Linked DNA regions of Homo sapiens: region 2 is linked to region 1. The links are contacts of gene promoters, found by promoter capture Hi-C in blood cells and fetal thymus (Javierre and others, 2016). All regions are on one chromosome and are shown on one strand. The core of a region is centred on a gene start or on the middle of the fragment in contact, and the rest is flanking DNA. Distances in the headings are between cores, read along the strand shown. Region 1 holds the start of ORC5 (origin recognition complex subunit 5). Region 2 holds the start of PNPLA8 (patatin like domain 8, phospholipase A2).

Region 1 (7,326 bases), core at 1,341-3,840:
AGAAAATGGGATTATGCAATTTCTATCAGAAAGTTAAGTCTCTATTAATTATCATCGATTACAGCAACAGTCACAAACATTTATTACATTCAAGTCACTAAGTTAAACATTTCCTTTTACAAGACAAATCAGGAACTCAGATTTACGCAGGAAAAAGACTTTCTAAATGGCATACAGCTATGGCAAAAGCAGCTCAACTGCTAAAAATAGACTAAAAATTTACTTGAAATGAATAGGTAATGTAATACATGAATCTTTTTCTGAAGTTTATATGTAACAATCATAAATTAACTGGCCCAAAAATTCTGTCTCAGCAGGATGCAGTGGCTCAAGCCTGTCATCCCAACACTTTGGGAGGCCAAGGCAGGCAGATCACTTGAGTTCAGGAGTTCGCCTGGGAAATACAGTGAAACCCCATCTCTACAAAAAACACAAAAATAGCCAGGCTTGGAGGCAAACACCTGTGGTCCCAGCTACTCGGAGGCTGAGGTGGGCGGACTGCTTGAGCCTGGGAGGCAGAGACTGCAGTGAGCCAAGATCATGCCACTGCACTCCAGCCTGGGAAAGAAAGCCAAACCCTGTCTCAAAAAACAAAAACAAAAAATTCTGTCTCAAGAATTAAATGCATGTTGCTGAGTATCTCTGCTATCCATTACATGTTGTTGCCTAATAATACCTTAAACATCTTTTCTATTGTGACCTAGAATTATATTGAACTGTTCCACTGTTATTTAACCTTTCACCTTCATAAATCTCGCTAACATAAACTGCAATAAGCTAGTACCTGACACAGAAAAGGTGCTCGGTAAATATTTATTTATTGAACAAATAAATGAGTATTCTTAGAAACATGAACCAATTTTTTATATTTCTTTGCTATAGTTGTTTGTATTTCCCACATGCACAGCACCTTGCAGAAAACTGATATTAAAATATTGTTAAACATAATTTTCATTAAAAGCAAAGGTCAAAAACTCTTCTGTGATCCACCACTAAGTTTACTCATCCCTATTTGCCAATTTGCTCTTTCAGCAGGAACATTTCTGGCTGGAGTGATCTGCGTTCCATAGATGAAATGCAGAGAACATAATCAAGAAAATGCTCCAGTAATAATATAACTATAATTGAAAGCAGTATAAATAGAAAATTAATTGAAGATGCAGTTGTTGACCTCTAACTTCCCTAAATAATGCACCCCTTTAGACAGAGGGTAGTACTTTTCCACTAATGCTTCACAGGCCACCTCAAATTGCCATGCAATATTTCTAGTTGGATGAAAGTACAGTCACGTGTACATTCAAAGATGGACCACATATACAACAGTGATCTCATAAGATTATAATACCCTATTTTCACTGTACCTTTTCTATGTTTAGACACTTTTAGATGCAGACTTATCACTGTGTTACAACTGCCTACAGTATTCAGTATAGTAGCACCGCTGTAGAGGTTTATAGCCTAGGAGGAACAGGCTACACCATACAGCCTAGGTGTATAGCAGGCTACACCATCTAGGTTTGTGTAAATACACTTTCTGATATTCACAGGGATTAAATTGCCTAACGATGCATTTCTCAGGACGTATCCCCCTCACTAAGTGGCAGCAACGCATGACTGTACTTAAAAAAGCAAACCAGAAGATGGGGGTATGAGTATGACCCTGAATTCTCATTCACTCTCTTCGCAGGTAAGATCCAAGTTTGATTAATTCCAATTCTGATTGAGTCTGAATCAAAAAGCACATCAAAGACCACCAGAAAATAGTCAAAAATAGGTTAAATTTTGAATTGGTGAACGCTACCCTCTGCCTATTGAAAGGACTCCCTACGTATCTATGTTCATCCAGACAAGACAAACTCCTCTCTAGGGCATCCTGTGAACTATCAGTTAAGGAGAAAAGTTTACCCTAGACCTCTTCTGGACTGTTACAATTCTGGAAAAGCCAGTAAATTTTTAAACCTGAAGCACTGCTTTGGCCCTTAGTGGCCTTGAAAGCAACCACCTCTCTACACTTGACTCACTCCAACTACCGCACAGAAACGTGTGAACTTACATTTGAATAAATAACACCCTGCAAACACATCTGTTACATAAATGTCATTGGGTTGGGGTAAGATAACAAGCAACTTCTAGGAGCTAATGTGGGCAAACTTCTGAAAAGTGTGGCGTGTTTCAAATACGTCTTAGGCAACGTCCTATAGTGCAGGCCGGTCGCTCTCAGACTGTCTCCTCTTCAATATTCGGAAGAGACTGTGGGTGAAGCTGCAGTACAGAACCACAACACCCCTATTTAACGTAAAAACGGCCTTTTGGCCCTCAATCCAAACACGAAAAAACAAATATTGGAACAGGTCGCAAGACTACCGAAACGTCTGCCTCCAGGATCTGGAAGACAGTTTAACTACAATACCTCTCCAAACAAGGACTGCAAGATGGACACTTGAGACTCGCGACAAAGCACCACGTTTTCCAAGTGGGGCATTCTGGCAGGCACCACCGCAGAGGCCAGTGCAGCCAGCCCACAGGACCCTTGCACAAGACGGAGCCTCTCCCGAGTCTGGCGGCCCACGCTCCCGCCGGAAACCGGACCCGCAGCGTCGTGGGAGGAGCCTGCGCTGCCGGGCTGCGGCGTGACGGCAGCGCGTACGCCGAGCGTCGCCGCCGCTCTAGTCTCAGGGCCGGAACCATCCTCTTCTCGCTGGTCCTGTGCGCGCCGAGGTTTTGCCCATTCTTGGGCTTGGTGGGGATTTCGGGCTGACGCTTTTTCCACTCAAAGGCTAAGGAGACGACATGGAGATGGGCGAATAGGGAAGGGGTGGAAGGGGTTAAGGGGGTCCCGTGGGCCTCCAATGACCCCTGAACCCCGTGCCTTTAGTTTTACCGGCTGGAAGCCCCAAGTTTAGAAACCTTGAGTGCCTAAGAAGACGGACCCGGAGCTGGGGCCCTTAGAGGGACGTGGAAGGCGGACTTAGAAGACTAATATTGTCAAAAGATGTTTTTGTTGTCGTTTTTTTCCCTGACGACGTTGTGGGAAATTAGTGGCATTGAGTACAAAACAGGGTGTAATGGGGTTTAATGCACAGCTTGGAATTACTATTTTTTGTGCAAGCTTTAAACCAGATGTGGAAAGCCTCTCAGTCCTAATGGGATGAAGTCGTAGTGTGTGTTGGTGAGGTTGATAGTAAAAATAATGCTACTTTTAGCATTAGGCTTTCACGTGTATTTATTTGTGAGGCACCTACTAGCGACTAAACACTAGAAGATTCTGGAAATAAGATACAGAAGTAGGCAAGTGCATGGTGGAAAGAGAGCTTGGCGTCCTGAAACCCCTGGGTTGGGACCACTGACTGACTCAACTGCTGAATAGGGGGACTTTGGAATAGTTGAGCCTCAACTTCCTTATCTATAAAATAGGGATAATACTGGCTAGGTTATTGCTAGGAGTAGAAGATCCTGTACATACTACCTGTTATACATAAATTTAAATTGTGGACTTCAATCTGCCCATAGATTGTAGATCAGTCTTAGATTTGTGATGGTCAAAAGGATCTTTTGAGAGTTGTGGTATATAACGTATTAGCTAGTCAAAATAGTATTTTCACAGCAACAATTCAAAAGCATTTGCCCAGGTACTTTTTAATAGAGAATTCTAAAGGTTATAATGGGACCACCCATTAAATTTCAATGTCTCCAAGGGAAGCTGGCCTCTGATACTCTCCTAAGATGGTTATACGTCCGTAACATACTGTGCATATAAGGTATACATATATTATAATCATAACACGACATCTTTATAGCATTCAATAAAACTGACTAAACTGTCTAAAATGTTAGTCTCCCTCTCTATATACTTTATGAGGACAGGAAACACTGTCTTCACAGTTCAATTTCCAGCATACACAGTTAACGCCTGGCAGTTACATAATAAAGATAATTGTTGATCTGAGAGAACATGCCTTACCATCTGGATGATTTAGGATGGTTTCTCAGAGGAGAGAACCTGGAAGCTGAGGCTGAAGAAAAGATTCACCTGTGAGACCAAGAAGGAAATTGTAAACAAAAGAATGTACAGACAAAAAGGGACAAATGGGCAATCCCATAACTGAAACTAGCAAATAGTTTTTACATATAAACCTGGAGAGTAGTAGGAGGTCAGGCTGGGGACCAATAAAGAATTGTAGGCAGAGAAGCAAATGTTGAGATTTGACTTAGAAATATTCCTTCTGGCTACAGTGTGGAAAGTGGAATCAATTTCATTTGTTGAAACGACTATTGCAGTCTCCCAAACAGTGAATAATAATGGCCTCGATAGGCAGCCAAGATGGCCGAATAGGAACAGCTCTGGTCTACAGTTCCCAGCATGAGTGATGCAGAAGACGGGTGATTTCTGCATTTCCATCTGCGGTACTGGGTTCATCTCACTACGGAGTGCCAGACAGTGGGCACAGGATAGTGGGTGCAGTGCACCGTGCACGAGCCAAAGCAGGGCGAGGCATTGCCTCACTCAGGAAATGCAAGGGATCAGGGAGTTCCCTTTCCTAGTCAAAGAAAGGGGTGACAGACAGCATCTGGAAAATCGGGTCACTCACACCCTAATACTGCGCTTTTCCGACGGGCTTAAAAAATGGCACACCAGGAGATTATATCCTGCACCTGGCTCCGACGGTCCTACGCCCACGGAGTCTCGCTGATTGCTAGCACAGCAGTCTGAGATCAAACTGCAAGGAGGCAGCGAGGCTGGGGGAGGGGCGCCCGCCATTGCCCAGGTTTGCTTAGGTAAACAAAGCAGCCAGGAAGCTAAAACTAGGTGGAGCCCACCACAGCTCAAGGAGGCCTGCCTGCCTCTGTAGGCTCCACCTCTGGGGGCAGGGCACAGACAAACAAAAAGACAGCAGTAACCTCTGCAGACTTAAATGTCCCTGTCTGACAGCTTTGAAGAGAGCAGTGGTTCTCCCAGCATGCAGCTAGAGATCTGAGAACGGGCAGACTGCCTCCTCAAGTAGGTCCCTGACCCCTGACCCCTGAGCAGCCTAACTGGGAGGCACCCCCCAGTAAGGGCAGAATGACACCTCACACAGCCGGGTACTCCTCTGAGACAAAACTTCCAGAGGAATGATCAGGCAGCAACATTTGCTGTTCACCAATATCCACTGTTCTGCAGCATCCACTGCTGATACCCACGCAAACAGGGTCTGGAGTGGTCCTCTAGCAAACTCCAACAGACCTGCAGCTGAGGGTCCTGTCTGTTAGAAGGAAAACTAACAAACAGAAGGGACATCCACACCAAAAACCCATCTGTACATCACCAGCATCAAAGACCAAAAGTAAATAAAACCACAAAGATGGGGAAAAAACAGAGCAGAAAAACTGGAAACTCTAAAAAGCAGAGTGCCTCTCCTCCTCCAAAGGAACGCAGTTCCTCACCAGCAATGGAACAAAGCTGGTCGGAGAATGACTTTGACGAGTTGAGAGAAGAAGGCTTCAGACGATCAAACTACTCCAAGCTACAGGAGGAAATTCAAACCAAAGGCAAAGAAGTTAAACACTTTGAAAAAAATTTAGACGAATGTATAACTAGAATAACCAATAGAGAGAAGTGCTTAAAGGAGCTGATGGAGCTGAAAGCCAAGGCTCGAGAACTACGTGAAGAATGCAGAAGCCTCAGGAGCCAATGTGATCAACTGGAAGAAAGGGTATCAGTGATGGAAGGTGAAATGAATGAAATGAAGTGAGAAGGGAACTTTAGAGAAAAAAGAATAAAAAGAAACGAACAAAGCTTCCAGGAAATATGGGACTGTGTGAAAAGACCAAATCTACGTCTGATTGGTGTACCTGAAAGTGACGGGGAGAATGGAACCAAGTTGGAAAACACTCTGCAAGATATTATCCAGGAGAACTTCCCCAATCTAGCAAGGCAGGCCAACATTCACATTCAGGAAATATAGAGAATGCCACAAAGATACTCCTTGAGAAGAGCAACTCCAAGACACATAATTGTCAGATTCACCAAAGTTGAAATGAAGGAAAAAATGTTAAGGGCAGCCAGAGAGAAAGGTTGGATTACCAACAAAGAGAAGCCCATCAGACTAACAGCAGATCTCTCAGCAAAAACTCTGCACACCAGAAGAGAGTGGGGGCCAATATTCAACATTCTTAAAGAAAAGAATTGAAAAGAATTTTCAACCCAGAATTTCATATCCAGCCAAACTAAGCTTCATAAGTGAAGGAGAAATAAAATCCTTTACAGACAAGCAAATGCTGAGAGATTCTGTCACCACCAGACCTGCCCTAAAAGAGCTCCTGAAGGAAGCACTAAACATGGAAAGGAACAACCGGCACCAACCACTGCAAAATCATGCCAAAATGTAAAGACCATCAAGGGTAGGAAAAACTGCATCAGCTAATGAGCAAAATAACCAGCTAACATCATAATGGCAGGATCAAATTCACACATAACAATATTAACTTTAAATGTAAATGGACTAAATGCTCCAATTAAAAGACACAGACTGGCAAATTGGATAAAGAGTGAAGACCCATCAGTGTGCTGTATTCAGTAAACCCATCTCATGTGCAGAGACACACATAGGCTCAAAATAAAAGGATGGCGGAAGCTCTACCAAGCAAATGGAAAACAGAAAAAGGCAGGGGTTGCAATCCTAGTCTCTGATAAAACATACTTTAAACCAACAAAGATCAAAAGAGACAAAGAAGGACGTTATATAATGGTAAAGGGATCAATTCAACAAGAAGAGCTAACTATCCTAAATATATATGCACCCAATACAGGAGCACCCAGATTCATAAAGCAAGTCCTGAGTGACCTACGAAGAGACTTAGACTCCCACACAATAATAATGGGAAACTTTAACACCCCACTGTCAACATTAGACAGATCAACGAGACAGAAAGTTAACAAGGATACCGAGGAATTGAACTCAGCTCTGCACCAAGCAGACCTAATAGACATCTACAGAACTCTCCACCCCAAATCAACAGAATATACATTTTTTTCAGCACCACAGCACACCTATTCCAAAATTGACCACATAGTTGTAAGTAAAGCTCTCCTCAGCAAATGTAAAAGAACACAAATTATAACAAATTGTCTCTCAGACCACAGTGCAATCAAACTAGAACTCAGGATTAAGAAACTCACTCAAAACCACTCAACTACATGGAAACGGAACAACCTGCTCCTGAATGACTGCTGGGTACATAACGAAATGAAGGCAGAAATAAAGATGTTCTTTGAAACCAACGAGAACGAAGACACAACATACCAGAATCTCTGGGACACATTCAAAGCCGTGTGTAGAGGGAAAT
Region 2 (7,326 bases), core at 3,568-6,067, 4.3 Mb after region 1:
TAACTGTGTGAGGTAATGCATATGTTAGATTTAGTTAGTCCACAATGAAAATAATACTTAAAAACATCATGTTGCACACCATAAATACATACACCTTTATCTGGCAATTTAAAAAATAAAAAATAATTTTATAAAATAATAAAGCCATGCTCAAAGTCAACAGTAAAAAATCTCCAGGTTTAAGAGGACCCACAGGCCTGGAACAGCAGTCATACTATCCTCAAGGTGCAGATACCCTATGGGCAATGGGATCCTACACCAAGCAACCACTATGGAAAATGAACTCACTGAAGTTACAAAACATGCAAAGAAATGCACCATCACCTGCAGAGAGGATCAGCAAATATAGCCAGAAAAAAAAATGTGTAACTAAGATTTAGAAATAGAAAAAAATTAAGTAGGTCTAAAATGTTCAAAGATGAAACAGAAGGAAAATAAAGAGTCGAAAAGAGAACTGTACCAAGAATAAACAAGGACAGCAAAATCTTAGAAATGAAAACTCCAGCTATGTGCTAGCTACAAACACACCTATAATGAAAGGCTGAAAATACAGGACTGGGAAAAATGTTATACCAGACCTAAACTACCCATCAGAAGGTAAAAAGCCTTTGAAGGTAAACATAAGGGAAAGGCATTAATTATGGATAAAAAGGAGACATTACAAAATAAAGGAATGATCCACTTACTTATTAAACTTCAGGTAATCATGTAGACCTTGGAGGAGAAGACAATCTATTGAGAAATAAAACAAATAATAAACGTAATGTATAAAGTCAGCCTGAGAAGTGCCATGAATTAAAATAAAGCGGGAGGAGGGGAAGAAGGCCACAGAGTGCTATTTTATGGTGTGATCAGAACTGAGTTGACATTTTAGTGGAAACCTGAATGAAGGGAGGAAGAAAATTATTAAGAAAATCTGGGAAAAAAGCATTCTAGTCAGAGAGAAAAAACAACCCACAATTTGGAGACAAACAGCAAGAACTACAAGGTGGTTAAAGGCAAGTAAGGGGAAAAAATAGAATGATAAAGATGAACCAAACCAAAAATAAAATTCTGCAGCTCTCCTAAACATCTGAACAGACCCCTCCTCTTGGCCAAGGGCATTCCAGAGTTAACCTGAAAATCTAGTTCAGGCCACGATGGAAGGGGGGTTGGATGTGCCTCATTATACCCCTCCAGCATTCACATCAACACAGATCTTAAGTCTGATAAGAAACATTTACAGGCCGGGCGTGGTGGCTCACGCCTGTACTCCCAGCACTTTGGGAGGCCGAGGTGGGTGGATGACGAAGTCAGGAGTTCAAGACCAGCCTGGCCAATATGGTGAAACCCCGTCTCTACTAAAAATACAAAAATTAGCCGGGCGTGGTGGTACGTGACTATAGTCCCAGCTATTCGGGAGGCTGAGGCAGAAGAATCACTTGAACCCGGGAGGCGGAGATTGCAGTGAGCCAAGATCCTGCCACTGAACTGCAGCCTGGGTGACAGAGCGAGACTCCCTCTCAAAAAAAAAAACAAAAAAAGAAAAAAAAAAAACATTTACAATCTATTCACTCTGCAGCCTGCTACCTGGAGCCTTCATCTGCATCATAAAACCTTGGTTTCCACACCTCCTTATGGTAACCCAAACATTTCTTCTACTGATAGTAACTCTTTCAACCAACCGCCAATTAGAAAATTTTTGTATGACCTGGAGGCCCCGTCCCCTTTGAGTTGTCCTGCCCTTCCAAATCAAACCAATGTGACTGATTGATGCATTATGTCTCACTAAAATGTATAGAGGCAAGTGGCATCTGACCACCTTGGGCACATGTCAGCAGGACCTCCTGAGGCTGTGTCACGGGTGCGTCCTTAAACTCGACAAAATTTTCTAGATTGAGACCTGTCTCAGATATTTTGGGGTCACAGACCCCAAAATTCAGGCAGGAAATGGAGACTAGGCTATGGTAAGAATTTTGCATTGTTTCTTTCCAATATGACGAATTTATGAAACCACCTATCAACTTGGCATTAAAATACAGTACAAAAGGCCAAAATAAGGGAACTATTACAAGATTAGACAATTTCATAATCATGAGAGATTTAATACACCTTTCTCAGAAACTACAACTATCAAGCAAAAATTACAAAACAAAGATGACCAACAAAATCAATAAGTTTAATTGCCCCCAAATCACAACACTAGTAAATGCAAGGTAAGTGTTTTGAGAGTACATTCAGCCAGAAGTTAGATGGCAAAAACACAGGAAGAAGAATGTAAAGTGAGATGCTATCATCAACTGAAAAAAGAGCAAGGAAGAATAGAGGTAGTATAAATACAATGGAGGTACGAATAAAACAAAACGGAGAGGCTGGGACCAAACACTTAGAGAAGGGAATGGAGTTTTAACTAGAGGAATTAAGGGAATTGTTAGATGGAGACCCAGCTAAGGATGGAAAGAATGAATTTACAGAGTATGTCACTTAATTATTAATATAACAGTCAAAAGGGTGACAACAGTCTGAAGGTAACAGTACTGAGGAGAGCAAAGATCACCTGGTGGCCATCGAGCAGACCATCCAGAGGGAAAGCTCCTTATCTGAGGAATTCAGAAACAATTAGACTTCTCTATTAGCTAAAGCCGGCATCTGGTACCAGGATTCTTTCCCAGAAATTTATAAGTAACTAGAATCTCTATACATGTCCAGAATGTATGCATGTCGAAACTCACTGTGCAACTTTTGCTGATATCAAAGCACCAAAATGTCTATAAATGTAATCACTGATCATGACCTACGTGGCTAATATGGTCCAAGTTACCCTTCAGCTTCTGCTTTAAGGTCCATAAATACCCCTAAGAAAAAATCCACTGCGGTGAGCTGTCCTCTCTTGCTGAGGCGCCTGGCTGCACTCTTCTGCAGCACTCTTTCTATCCAATAAAACTTTCCTTTTCAAACCTACGGTGTTGTCGGTAAATTTTTCTTACTACCCTACTACCCCAAGCTGACCACTTTCTGATGCTGGGGCTCTGACACCTCACCCAGCAAGTACTAGTGTGGGGAAGAGGGCCACTCTGAACACTTTGAAAGTAAGGGAAAAAAGAGAAAACAACAAAACACAGGACTTGACAGCCAAGAATGGGGTAAAGAGAGGGAAGTGTTAAGAGAGCTCTAAGGTTTTAAATCTGAAAAATACGGAGAGTGCCATTTGCGAATATGAGAAAACTGTGAAGGGGACAATTTAATAGGAGAGAAAAACACATTTTCTTTTGGATTCACAGGATGAAGTAACAGTGGGACATTCAAATGGAAATGTACACAGACTGTGGATTTACTTGTGGAATTACCAGCATAGTGGCAGCAGAAACCACAACATTAGACGTATTTACCAGATGATAGTTTACAGTAATAATACATGACTATTTTGGGATCAGGCAACCTGAGTAAAGCTTTTCTTCCTTGAAAAATGTGTATTTGCAATACAAACTATATTTTCCATAATATTTCAGGATATTCACATGCCCACTGAAGTATATTTGGGTTTCAAACACGAAACTCTGGTTTAGGGAGAGCGACAGGGGTAGAGCCTTGAGTGCCACCCAGAGCTAGGAAGAGGAAGAAAAGACTCTAAAGGAAACAAAACAGGAGAAAAGCCACCCTGAAAAAATCAGGACACTGAAAACCAAGACAGGACCAAATTTTTTCAAGTAATGGATAATGAACAGAATAAAATACTTGAGTACTGCAGAGAAAGATAAGAACTAAGAAATGACTGGCCAGGTGCGGTGGCTCAGGCCTGAAATCCCAGCACTTTGGGAGGCCGAGGCGGGCGGATCACCTGAGGCCAGGAGTTTGAGAGCAGCCTGGCCAACATGGGGAAACCCGTCTCTACTTAAAAAAATTAGCCGGGTGTGGTTGCGCACGCCTGTAAATCCCAGCTACTCGGGAGGCTGAAGCAAGAGAATCGTTTGAACCTTGCAGTGAGTCGAGATCGCACCAAGGCACTCCAGCCTGGGCGACAGAGAGAGACTCCCAACAACAACAAAAAATGGCAGGACAGGAAGGTGTCTATGGCTCAGCATTCTAACTCTGACCTTTTTACAAATATATATTCCATGAGTGAAGCAATATGCAGCTTCAGCACAACCCCTCTAACTGGGGTAAAAAAAAACAACTCAAAGTACAGGCTGTTCTTGTAACAACTTTGCATGTGAAACAAGTGAATAGCTAAACTAGTGAAACTGGCCCTTTCATTCAACATCACTCATTAAAAGGGCGTTTACAAGATTTTAATTTAGTCCTGATATAGAAATAAAAAAAGAGATCAACATTAAGAAAAAGTTGATTATAATTACGAAATAAAAACATGTTCTTATATTGAAAGGACAACTAATTTGCATAAGCAATTTAACAAAATAGCTAAAATGGGCTTGATACAACTGCCTCACAAGGCATAAGCTCTTAATGTTTCACTGTTTAACAGCATTTTCTTAATACACTGAAACATTTGTCATTTTTGAACTCTCAGAAATTAGGACTGCAGAACCAGGATACAACTGTTTTGGAATTGAAAACAGTATTTTAAGCAGGATTATATGATAGTCCCTTATGTCACAACTCTCCTGAGTTTTTCCTATGAGTCACCATTTTAAAGTTATCATTGTATTAGGCGTGGAAAGCAGGTTCCTTCCAGCACAATGATAGAAATGACACAGGGATAGGAAGCACTGCAACACAGTGATTCATACACCTTATCCACTTAAGCAACAGCGGTCAAGGATAGAATCAAATGTGGATGGGGTCAGAAAGAGATTACTGACAAAAAATATCAGGCAGTAGAATCACCAGGTGCACACTGACAGTCGAGAATGATGTAGACTAGGGAAACCCTCCTGAGAGTGACCAGTTAACTACTGGAGAACACTACAGTCCAGGGGAAGGCAGACAGACTCTGGAAAATTGAGGAGGGAGTCGTGGGGATGGGACAGGGGGAGCAGGGCGGGACCTGCGAAACCAAATACGGTTTGCGCTTCTGGGGCAGCAAAGCCCACGGGGGCGGAGGGCGCCGAGTACCAATGAGCTCCAGGACCTGCGGGCTCCTTCCAGCGCCAGCTCCTCCCCAAAGCCTGGCGTGTCCCCACCCTCTCGCTCGGGAAGTGCCCTCCAAAGAAAGAAAGGACGACCCGGAGCGCCGGACAAGGGTCCAGAACGATCAACCAGCCTCCTATCGTCCCGCCCCTGTCCCCTCGCGGCTACTTACCGGGATGCAGGCCGCAGTCACTAGGGCTGCAGCGGCGACTCGCTCGTTCCCGGCAATGACGTCCACTCCAACCGGCCTGCATCAGCTGAGCTTCCAACACAAACACTGGCGCAGCAGCTAGGTCGCCACCCACTCAGCCCCGCCCCGCTCCGCCCCCAGCGGAAGTGACGCGCTAGAAGTTTGGGTCTACCCGCGGGCCGGGGTGAGGATTTTCCGCCTCGCTCAGGCCTCTGCCTCCTTGTCAATCTCCGTTCCTCCCCCGCCCCGAGATATGCGCAATAGAGCATGACGGAGCGCAAGGCGGGAAGCCGCGACAGACGTGTGTGCGTGCGTGCGTGCGTGCGTGATGCGCGAGGCGTGGCTTGCTGGTGGGGCGTGCTGTGCCTTGGTTGGTTGCCGGGTGTGAGAGCGGTGGGACTTCGTTTTGCCTTCCTGGGCGGGACCTCGGAGCAGTGTCCTGGTTTGCTTGTTTGCGGGCCGCTATTCCCTTTCAGCAGAGATAAGCCTCCCTCTCCGCGTCCCTGAAGCCCCTGCCTGCGCTGAGTTCCTTGGAGCTGGGGGCTGCGATACCAGTCTCTTGGAGGGTGGTGCCCGGCGCGGCCGCGCCCCTTTCTCTATATCCATTCCTGGGCATGGCCACCCAGACTAAATGTCACTCAAAAGCGAGTTGACATATATTACTGTATTGGAAGTTAGCATAAACCGCCCCACAAATGGTCCCACACGTAACACATCTTTTTAAAATTGTGGCATTTCATACGTACCACAGGGGCAAACTACAGCCCTCAGGGCAAATCCAGCCCACCGCAGGTTCTGCTGTACTAGGAGCTAAAAATGGGTTTCACATTTTTCAAAGGTTAAAAAAAAAGTTTTGCGACAGATGACAATTATATGACATTCATATTTGTGTCTGCTTTTTAAAGTTTCATTAGAACATAGCTTTGCATTCCTATACATGCTGTTAATTAAAGCTTTTATACTACAATAGCGAATTTGGGTAGTTGCAATAGCCCCTTACCCTCTTGAAGTGACCTTGCAATTACGTTGAGGTCGGGAAAACAGATCAGTTTCAACTAGTTATCAACCTCAAAATGTTATCAAGACTTATACTGTACTCTCAAGGCTTACCCACTACCCATGGGTATGTATGCTTTAGCCCCCTGTAAGGTTATTGTAAAGTCCTTAAGGAAGGGGATTCTTTGACCTGTCAAATGTAGTGGATGTTACCCTGATAGTTGTGTTGTTTTGATTTTTTTAAATCAAGGAGGGAAAGCCAGCTTGCTATGTTCTTGGGACACAGTGTCTGGATTATGTACATCATAATGCCTGGTAAACCCCAGCAGTGGATAAGCCAGACATGTTATTTAGCTACAGGAGAGTTAAAAGATGTATGCACCAATTAAGCCTTACAGGCGTGTGGAAGGAGCTTTAGTTTTTGAGACAGATTCCTCCTTGTTGCTAAAGAAAAATTATTCTGACACTTGTTAAAATGTCAAGGAAGACATTTAGAACTATTGCAATAGGTGCCATGACTATCACCATGGGGGAGAGAGATTGGCCTCAAGTTTTAATACAACAAAAACAGCTAGGATTTATAACCAGCAAGCAGACTGAGGGGTCAGTTCATGGAAAATTACTAAGAAGTGATATCAAGGGTCGGGGATATTCTTGTTAAAGTGACTTACAAGATTCTTGCTGAAGACAGGCGGAGATGATCAATTATCAAGGCTAGGAGATACTCTCTAAACTGACTTTGCAAGATTCTTGCTAAAACTGGACTCAGCAGGCCTAAGACAGGGGCCCAAGGATGAGGCCTAGTTGGGAAGAGGGCTCAGAGGAGCCTAACTAAAGTATGGTCAAGGAGAGAGCACCACCATTCCCTCTCCGCTTATGCTCTTTCATCCCCTAATTTAGTCAGATGTTATTAAATATCCAGATTTTCCTCCCATGTCAGAAATTTTCAAATAACGCCCAATTCCTGCTTCTCCATTCTTATCCTTCCTCTCCCTCCCTTGTCTACCACCATACCTTTAATCAGTCATGAAGTCTGATGAGTTTTACCGCAGAATTTCTTGAATCGTTCCTCT

What was found. The method cuts DNA at HindIII sites, captures the fragments that hold promoters and counts their contacts. A CHiCAGO score of 5 or more calls a contact.
Region 2: a fragment that was not itself captured here is called in contact with the fragment with the promoter of ORC5 in region 1 in 1 of 17 cell types (naive CD4 T cells); the score reaches 5.5 in naive CD4 T cells.

The regions. Positions count from the first base shown.
Region 1 is chr7:104,205,423-104,212,748 of GRCh38, forward strand. ORC5 (origin recognition complex subunit 5) reads right to left here and starts at 2,591. Exons shown (of 14, transcript NM_002553.4): 1 at 2,411-2,591. The coding sequence starts at 2,482. RefSeq lists enhancers at 2,250-2,439, 2,480-2,559, 2,610-2,769. The HindIII fragment of the contact is 7,936 bases long and covers 1-3,107 here.
Region 2 is chr7:108,520,790-108,528,115 of GRCh38, forward strand. PNPLA8 (patatin like domain 8, phospholipase A2) reads right to left here and starts at 5,346. Exons shown (of 11, transcript NM_001256007.3): 1 at 5,240-5,346; 2 at 687-732. LOC124901722 (a long non-coding RNA gene) reads left to right here and starts at 5,686. Exons shown (of 2, transcript XR_007060473.1): 1 at 5,686-6,856. RefSeq lists enhancers at 3,268-3,803, 4,483-5,443, 5,215-5,334, 5,625-5,964. The HindIII fragment of the contact is 2,782 bases long and covers 3,427-6,208 here.